2 separate regions of the Homo sapiens genome follow, and region 2 is linked to region 1. The links are contacts of gene promoters, found by promoter capture Hi-C in human tissues and cell types (Jung and others, 2019). All regions are on one chromosome and are shown on one strand. The core of a region is centred on a gene start or on the middle of the fragment in contact, and the rest is flanking DNA. Distances in the headings are between cores, read along the strand shown.

What was found. Contacts are between HindIII fragments. The study calls those that stand out against the background at their distance.
Region 2: a contact is called between a fragment that was not itself captured here and the fragment with the promoter of PRSS21 in region 1, in 7 of the 25 tissues and cell types used here (H1 embryonic stem cells, IMR-90 fibroblasts, heart left ventricle and 4 more).

Annotation. Positions count from the first base shown.
Region 1 is chr16:2,815,154-2,819,703 of GRCh38, reverse strand. It overlaps PRSS21 (serine protease 21), which reads right to left and starts at 2,467. Exons shown (of 6, transcript NM_006799.4): 1 at 2,372-2,467; 2 at 2,248-2,274; 3 at 1,738-1,903; 4 at 735-1,027. The coding sequence starts at 2,435. RefSeq lists silencers at 2,150-2,209, 2,320-2,599 and an enhancer at 4,265-4,550. The HindIII fragment of the contact is 10,567 bases long and covers 1-4,115 here.
Region 2 is chr16:2,917,378-2,922,416 of GRCh38, reverse strand. The region is part of intron 2 of FLYWCH1 (FLYWCH-type zinc finger 1); the gene reads right to left. Among named protein-coding and RNA genes, the nearest start is that of FLYWCH1, 8.0 kb to the right of the region's middle. The HindIII fragment of the contact is 4,857 bases long and covers 1-3,690 here.

The sequences.
Region 1 (4,550 bases), core at 1,218-3,717:
CTCACTGCTGGGCCCCCATGTCTAGAACAGTGCCAGGCACACAGCGTGTGCTCAAGGAACCACGTTTGTTATTGTTACTACTGTTGTGGGATGATGCAGGGACGGGCCAGACAGGGGAGCAGAGGGAAGGGATTCCTGATACAGGGAACACGCCCAGTCTGGGGCTGCCGGGGCTCCTCCGGATGCTGGGCCCACTTCTTTCAGGGCATGTGTGTTGGGGGACACGCAGGTGCCAGGGCAGGCCCACCAGAGGAACCCCCAGAGGGGTTTCCGTGGGAGCTGCGGTTGAGCATGGCTTGGAAGTTTCTGGGGAGAGGAATGGGCTCAGTGCTGCAGGAGAATCGGCCAGAGCTAGGGTGGGTGTGGGAGGCATGGAGAGGCAGCCCAGGAGCCTGATGCCTGGGGCATTGGTGAGCACTGGGGGAGGTGGAAAGATGCAGGAATAAATCCAAGTATGAGGTTTATGTCGCCAAGCCCTCCAGAACCCCTCCACCACCGCACCACCCACAGGCCTGCGCCAAACTGGCCTCCCTCTCACACTCTCCTTCTGGCCCCCACAGCCCCTGGAAGGGAGAGAACTGGGTGTTTGGTCCCTGCCCTGGCAGGTGAGGAGAGACTGCAAGCAAGAGGGGCATAGCCTGCACCCCCAGACCAAGCAGGGGGCTATTGTGCCTATGCAGGGGAACAGGTGAACAAAGACAGTTCCTCCCTGACCCGCCTGTCCCCAGCCTCACCCTCATCCTCTTTGATGTACCCCCAGCCAGTCACCCAGCAGTCTGTCCGGTTCTCAAACTCAAATGTGGAGGCCTGGAGACAGATGGGCTGGATGTGTTTAGTGTAGGTGACAGGTGCAGACAGCTTCACCAAGGCAATGTCATAGGGTGAATTCCCCAGGTAGCGAGGGCTCAGATAGATATTCGATACGAAGTAACGGGTGTAGTAGGCCTGCAGGCTCCAGAAGGATGGCATGGAAGTCAGCTGGCCAAACTGGACCATCCACCCGGAGGGATCACTAAGGTCACTATAGCTGGCAGAAGAGAAGAGAGCAGTCAGGGGCCCTGGATGGAGGGCTGGCTACCTGAGCACAACTGGGGTCCAGTGCAGGAGGGGAAACTGTGGTGTTGCTGCTACTTGCTAACACCCAGGGTCCCCTGCAGAAATGAAGGAGCCCAGACAGACCACAACCAAAGTCCTAGGACCTGCTCCTGCAGCAGAAGGGTGGGGTCTTGTCACCTCCCAGAGCTGTCCCAAGGAGCCTTGCATTGAGCCAAGGCCTCCAGGGGCACCCCCATGCAGCCCAAGGAGGAATGGGGAGATGCACCACGCCAATGTGGGATTGGCAGGATGGAGTCCACACAGCGGCCCGGGGGTGCTGGCCTTGGCTCAGTGCCCCACACTGTACCGCACCGTCCACCAGGAGGGGGGATGAGGGTGGGATGGTCAGTGGTGAACTTTGGGTTGAAAGAAAAAGGGAGAGAATACCCAAAAGTGTGTGGAAATGTTCTGGAAGAACATTCTGGAATAACCTGAACAGGGTTCCCTCCAGGAGACCCAAAGGGAACTGGAGTGGGTGTAACCGGCTGCAGCACAGCCTGGGGCTCAGGAGAACACCAGGCCGCATCCACGCACAACTTTCACGCCCAAGTCTGGCATCAGACCAGAGGTAAAGTTCGGTGGCACTCCCTCCAGCCCTGTTCCTGCCCGTCCCCGCACCCCTCCGTTCGCACCCCCACTCACGTTTCAAAGCAGTGCGCCGCCGTGAGTGCCCAGCGGTGGCTGAGCAGGCTCACTCCGCATACGTGGGAATCCCACAGGCGCAGGCTCCCCTGCCACGGCCAACGCCCGAGTTCGGCGTCCTCTCCACCCACGATGCGCGACGTGATGACCCGTCGGCCGCATGGTCCTCGGATGGTCAGAGGAACTGCTGAGCCGCGGGAGGCAGCCCCCCAAGCCCGACCTCTCCCTTTCTCCCCTTCAACCCCGTCCGGGAAAGCACGTTTTTGCCCACCCAGGGTCCCCTCGCGTGTGTGCAGCAGGAAGTAGGTGACACTGGAGATCCTCCCACGTGCTCTGCAGGGCCCGCCCATCCCCCTCCAGCGTCCGTTAGTTACTTTCCACGCCAACAGAGTTCTCGATCCCGGGGGCGGGGGCGAGAGAGCAGTAAAGGCCCCCCTCTACCCCCTCACCGCCCCCCGTCCACCTCGGCCCAACGGCCCTGGCAGGAATCGCGCGTCCTGGGCGCCCTACCTGATAACGGCGCCGCCTCCTGCGACTCTGCGGGAGACAAGAAGTGACTCCCCGCGGCCTCCACCTCCCGTCCTCCCCACCGCTCCCCCGCCTCCCCATCCCGCCAGCAGCGCCCCGAGCTCACCCGGCTTCCTGAGTCCAGCCCGAGCCAGCAGCAGCGCCAGCAGCAGCGCCCCGCGCGCGCCCATGGCCTCCTCTCCCGCGGCCTGACGCCCCCTCTGCCTCCTCTCGCGCCGGGCCCGGGGCGCCCCCTGGGGGCGGGGCGGGGTGGGAGCTCTGCCCTCTACTCCCAGCTTCACCCTCCTGGGCCCAAGGGCTGTTTGGGGCCTCTCATGCCTGGCAGCGCCCTGGCTTTCAGCCCCTAGGGGCGGGTCTTCAACCACACTTCTTGATGTGGCCCAGACCCGGTGGACCCCACAGTCCCTTTCTTGTCTGCAGCCCAGGGGTCCCGGCTGCCCTCTTGGTGACCCCGTCCTCCACCTACAACCTCCTCCAGCACCAAGGGCCTGGCCCTGAGCCAGGAGTCCCCTTAAAGCCTGGGGACCCCCTGAAGGCCGGGTGGGGCCTAGAGGCATGGCTGCTCCTTCATGGGACCTTCTTGGGAAAACAGTGGTCCTCGGCCCGTTCCACCCAGAATGGGGATCTCCCCAAGTCTCTGCCCAGGCTGTCCCCACTGCGGGCTCCCGCTGGGCTCTCTTCACTTCTCTGGAACAATTTTTTTTTTTTTTGAGATGGAGTTTCGCTCTTGTCGCCCAGGCTGGAGTGCATTGGCGTGATCCCAGCTCACTGCAACCTCCACCTCCTGGGTTCAAGCGATTCTCCTGCCTCAGCCTCCCAAGTAGCTGGGGTTACAGGCGCGCGCCAGCACACCTGGCTCATTTTTGTATTTTTAGTACAGACGGGGTTTCGCCATGTTAACCAGGCTGGTCTCCAACTCCTGACCTCAGGTAATCCGCCCACCTCGGCCTCTCAAAGTGCTGGGATTACAGGCATGAGCCACCGCGCCCAGCTGCAATTCCACTTCTGAGCATACACCCAAAAGAACTGAAAGGAAGGTCTTCAAGAGATATTTGTTTTTGGTTTTTTGGGGGGATTTAGTTTTGTTTGTTTTTGAGATGGAGTCTTGCTCCATCGCTCAGGCTGGAGTGCAGTGGTGCGATCTTGGCTCACTGCAACATCTGCCTCCTGGGTTCAAGTGATTCTCCTGTCTCAGCCTCCAGAGTAGCTGGGATTAGAGGCACCTGCCACCATGCTTAGCTAATTTTTGTATTTTTAGTAGAGATGGGGTTTCGCCATGTTGGCCAGGCTGGTCTTGAACTTCTGACCTCAGGTGATCTGCCCTCTGCGGCCTCCCAAAGTGCCAGGGTGAAGGTGTGAGCCACCCCACCCAGCCTTCAAGAGATATTTGTATACCCATGTTCATAGCAGGATTATTCACAGTAGCTGACATGAAAGCAACCCAAGAATCCATTGACCACTGAACAGATCAGTGAAAATGGGAATGTACAACCAGAACCTGGGAATCCCGCCTCCCTCAACTTGAAACTTGGGAATAGCGTATTCTACTTTCAACACTTGCACTAGTGGAAGGTTAATTACATGAAAGATTAGGCAAAATGTGTGGTTAGGCGTTCTGGTTTTCCAATAAAAGTATTAAGTTTCTTTGGGGAAAGTACAGATAAAATGCTTAGCACAGAGCATGGTACCAACGGGAACTCAATGAGGGCGCAGCGGGTGTGTGGGAGCTTCGGGTTTCAGGAGCACAAGGCTGCGGTGCCTTCCCTCAGGGCCTCCTTCCCCAGCAGCAGCTGCTCAAGGACAAGTCACATGCACAGCCTGGCCTTGGCCTGCTGGGTTGGGGCAAAGGTCCCTGGGCTTCTGATCCTGCCCCTCTCCCAGCCAGCAGGACGTTCCCTCTGGTTCCTGAGTCCCAGGGATCCGCTGAGGCCCCTAGGAGGTGTCAGCTCCTGGTTTTGCCCAGGGTCTCAGTCAGGCCAGTCCTACCCGGAGATCTGAGCCAGGGACTCAGGTTCTTGCCTCCAGTGAGGCTGGGGGCTTCCCGCAGAGGCCAAGCCTGGCCCGGGGGCTGCAGGGAGGCCCTGGCTGCTGCATGGGCTGCAGATGGAGACTCTCTTGTCTGCTGTGCCTCAGGCTGCAGAGTCACAGAGGGGTCTTCCCAAGCCCCACACCTGGAGGGCAGGGAGGACAGGGACTTGTGGTCCTAACCCGACTCCTGACACATAAGGGCCAGCCGGCCCGGAGCCACCTCTGCGGGCAGGAGAAGGCCTCATTGTTCCCTTCTC
Region 2 (5,039 bases), core at 13-2,512, 100 kb before region 1:
ATGGACGGTGGTGACGGATGAACAATGAATGTGAACCGCTGACCTGGACACTTCAACATCGAGGCTCAGGGAGAGCAGCTGCTCACAAAGACCAAGGGTTGTAGGATGCAATTTACATGAATGACCAATATGGTAAATTTTACGTCATGTATATTTAACCCTACACACACACACACACACACACACGAGCCATCTGTAACAAACTATACACAAAACACCCCATTTCCCTAACATTATCAGTGAATAAGCTTCTCCCTACAAGGTAGATTTTCTAGTAACTAAAGTTATCCCGCCATGATTCAGAATATGATTTTTATCTGATTCAAAATGTACCCATTTAAGATGGATTCTTTTTTTTAACTCTGTCACCCAGTTGCCCAGGCAGGAGTGCAGTGGCACGATCTCAGTTCATTGCAACCTCTGCCTCCCGGGTTCAAGTGATTCTCCCGCCTCAGCCTCCTGAGTAGCTGGGACTACAGGCGCGCGCCACCACACCTAGCAAATTTTTGTATTTTTTAGTAGAGATGGGGTTTCACCATATTGGCCAGGATGGTCTCGAACTTCCGACCTCATGATCTGCCTGTCTTGGCCTCCCAAAGTGCTGGGATTACAGGTGTGAGCCACCACACCCGGCCAGAATGAATACCTTTTATTTTTTATTTTAGTGGCAGGATTTCACTACAGCCTAAACCGGAGTGTGGTGGCGTGATCACTACAGCCTCTGCCTCCCAGGCTCAAGCCATCTTCCCACCTCAGCCTCCAGAGTAGCTGGGACCACAGGCGCACACTACCATGCCCGGCTAATTTCTGTATTCTTTGTAGAGACGGGGTTTTGCCAGGTTGCCCAGCCTGGTTTTTTAATTAAATTAAAAAAAAATATTTTGGTAATGACAGGGTCTTGCTATATTTCCAGGTTGGTTTTGAACTCCTGGGATCAAGCGATCCTCCCACCTCAGCCTCCCAAGCACCGGATGGATGCCTCTATAAGCTCTTCTCACCCGCTTCCCTGTCCAGAGAAAGGGAGCAACCATCCTCCCTCTGGCTTTAGAAGCAAAAAAAAAAAAAGTCCTAAAATTGATGGTGGTGATACTTGGACAGCTTTCTGAATATATTAAAAGCAATGAATTGTAGACTTAAAAAGTCCTAAAATTGATGGTGGTGATACTTGGACAGCTTTCTGAATATATTAAAAGCAATGAATTGTAGACTTTAGATGGAGAAATCATATGGTATTATGTAAATTATATCTCAGGAAAGTTATTGAAAAACAATCCCTGTCTGGGAATGGTGGCTCACGCCTGTAATCCCAGCACTTTGGGAGGCCGAGGCGGGCAGATCACGGGGTCAGCAGATCGAGACCATCCGGGCTAACACAGTGAAACCCCGTCTCTACTAAAAACACAAAAAATTAACTGGGCGTGGTGGCGGGCGCCTGTAGTCCCAGCTACTCGGAAGGCTGAGGCAGAAGAATCGCTTGAACCCGGGAGGCAGAGGTTGCAGTGAGCTGAGATCGCGCCACTGCACTCCAGCCTGGGCGACAGAGTGAGACTGTCTCAAAAAAAAAAAAAAAAAAAAAGGCCAGGCGTTGTGGCTCACGCCTGTAATCCTAGCACTTCGGGAGGCCAAGGTGGGCAGATCACCTGAGGTGGGGAGTTTGAGACCAGCCCGACCAACATGGAGAAACCCCGTCTCCACTAAAAATACAAAAATAGCCAGGCATGGTGGCATATGCCTGCAATCCCAGCTACTCGGGAGGCTGAGGCAGGAGCTCACGCTATTGCACTCCAGCCTGGGCAACAAGAGCAAAACTCCATCTCAAAAAAACAAAAACAAACAAACAAACAATGGTCAGAATGACTCAGATTCCAAGGGTCTCTTGGTGGAAAAGTGTTTTTTTTTTTTTTTAAGACAGAGTCTCACGGCCACCCAGGCTGGAGTGCAATGGCGTAATCTTAGCTCACTGCAACCTCCGCCTCCTGGGTCAAGCGATTCTCAGGCCTCAGCCTCCTGAGTAGCTGGGATTATAGGCACCTGAAACCACACATGGCTAAATTTTGTTTTGTATTTTTAGTAGAGATGGAGTTTCACCATTTTGGCCAGGCTGGTCTCGAACTCCTGGCCTCTAGTTACCTACCTGCCTCCTAAAGTGCTGGGATTACAGGTGCTCTACTAAACATCAGAAGCTTCTTGTTCTTGGGTTTGGTTTACTCATCAAAGAAGGGGTGGCATGCATTATATGTTGTGAAATTTTCTAAGTTCTAATATCATATTCTAAAAATATATAGAAACTATTTCAGAATGTTAAGACTATAATACTAAAATGACCCCTAATCCTGCCACTCAAATGCACAACTACTTCCATTGTTGAACTAATGCCTTTAAGGCGCTTGCTTTTCTGTAGCACACACTGCGTTCAATCATGTCTGCTACTGTATCCCCCTCGAGAGCAGGAAGCCCCCACCAGAGGCCACCTGGAGTCTTTCCAAAGGACCATTACATAAGGCAGGACCACCCGTCACGGGGGAAGCGCAAATTTAAATCCTCAGCAGCAATACTCCATATGGCCACAAGATGGTGGTGTTGCTCCTGAAATGTTCCTATTGCCTTGGTAAAATTACACGGGTGGCAATGTTTTCAAACAAGAATTTGGAAATTTTTCCAAGTTGGAAAAAAAATTCAAGAGGATTTCCAAAATGTTATATTTACAAAAAGTAGTACTTCGAGCTGGGCATGGTGGTGCGTATGTGTAGTCCCAGCCACTTGGGAGGTTGTGGCAGGAAAATGGCTTGAGCCCAGGAGTTTGAAGCCAATCTGGGCAACATCACATGACCCCATCTCAAGAAACAAAAAATAGGCCAGACGCGGTGGCTCACGCCTGTAATCCCAGCACTTCGGCAGGCCAAGGCAGGCGGATCACGAGGTCAAGAGATCGAAACCATCCTGGCAAACATGGTGAAACCCCGTCTCTACTAAAAATACAAAAATTAGCTGGGTGTGGTGGCGCATGCCTGTAATCCCAACTACTCGGGAGGCTGAGGCAGGAGAATCGCTTGAACCCAGGGGGCAGAGGTTGCAGTGAGCCGAGACCATACCACTGTACTCCAGCCTGGGAGACAAAGCAAGACTCCGTCTCAAAAAAAAAAAAAGAAACAAAAAATTAAAACAAATGAATAAATATACACGCATATATCAGAGAGCAGCTGGGTGTGGTGGCTCACGCCTGTAATCCCAGCACTTTGGGAGGCTGAGGTGGGTGGATCACAACGTCAGGAGATCGAGACCACCTTGGATAACATCTACTAAAACACAAAAGATTAATCAGGAGTGGTGGTGAGCACCTGTAATCCCAGCTACTTGGGAGGTGGAGGCAGAAGAATTGCTTTGGAGGTTGCAGTGAGCCGAGATCATGCCACTGCACTCCAGCCTGGGCAAAAGAGGGAGACTCTGCCTCAAAAAAGAAAAAAAAAGAAAGCAAAATCCAATTAACAAATTCAGTAAAGACTATCTTTCTAAACAAGTTTTTGTTTCCAAAAAAGACCAAAATATTACTTGGACAAGACACTACGTTCTAGCCCTCAATCCACTGGTCTTTCCTACTATTTCCTTTCTATTCTGGTCATATTTGTTATTCATTGGCGAATTTTATTTTACATGTTTATAACTTAAAAACATTTAAGGCCAGGCACGGTGGTTCACGCCTCTAATCCCAGCACTTTGGGAGGCCGAGGCAGGCGGATCACCTGAGGTCGGGAGTTTGAGACCAGCCTGACTAAAATGGAGAAACCCCGTCTCTACTGAAAATACAAAAATTAGATGGTCATGTTGGTGCATGCCTGTAATCCCAGCTATTCAGGAGGCTGAGGCAGAAGAGTCACTCGAAACCGGGAGGTGGAGGTTGCAGTGAGCCAAGATCCTGCCATTGCACTCCAGCCTGGGCAACAAGAGCAAAACTCCCTCTCAAAAAAAAAAAAGCCTGGCGCGGTGGCTCACGCCTGTAATCCCAGCACTTTAGAAGGCCAAGGCAGGCGGATCACGAGGTCAGGAGATCGAGACCATCCTGGCTAACACGGTGAAACCCCGTCTCTACTAAAAATACAAAAAATTAGCTGGGCGCGGTGGCGGCCGCCTGTAGTCCCAGCTACTCGGGAGGCTGAGGCAGGAGAATGGTGTGAGCCTGGGAGGCGGAGCTTGCAGTGAGCCGAGATTGCCCCACTGCACTCCAGCCTGGGCGACAGAGCGACACTGTCTCAAAAAAAAAAAAAAAAAAAAGGAATCCAAGGCCAGGCACAGTGGCACATACCTCTAATTCCAGCACTTTGGGAGGCCGAGGTGGGTGGATCACTTGAGGTCAGGAGTTCAAGACAAGCCCGGCCAACATGGCAAAACCCCATCTCTTCCAAAAAATACAAAAATTACCTGGGCATGGTGGCGGGCGCCTGTAATCCCAGCTACTCAGGAGGCTGAGGCAGGGAGAATTGCTTGAACCCAGGAAGTGGAGGTTGCACAGTGAGCCAAGATCGTGCCACTGTACTCCAGCCTGGGCAACAGTGAGACTCCATCTCGAGGGGGAAGAAAAGACTCCAGATTTTGGGGGGTGGGGAGAGGATCGGGGGAGGGGAAGAGGGAGGCCAAAGGAAGAGGGAGGAACAAGAATCTAGATTTTTCACAAATCCTCCTGATACTGATAGACTGTGAACTAGACTTTGACAAACACTAGAATAGATGACCTTGGGAAACAGAAGACTGCAGCTAAGCGACGAACCTAAGCAACACCTGAGGTTTGCTTTGTGCTGGGCACTAAAATACCTGAAGTATTTTATCTACATCATCTCATTTACTCTTTAATGTCATACAGGTTTCCTCATTAATGTCACAGAAAATCATTAACGGCCGGGCATGGTGGCTCACACCTGTAATCCCAGCACTTTGGGAGGCTGAGATGGGCGGATCACCTGAGGTCAGGAGTTCGAAACCAGCCTGACCAACATGGCAAAACCCCGTCTCTACTAAAAATACAAAATTAGCTGGGCGTCGTGGTG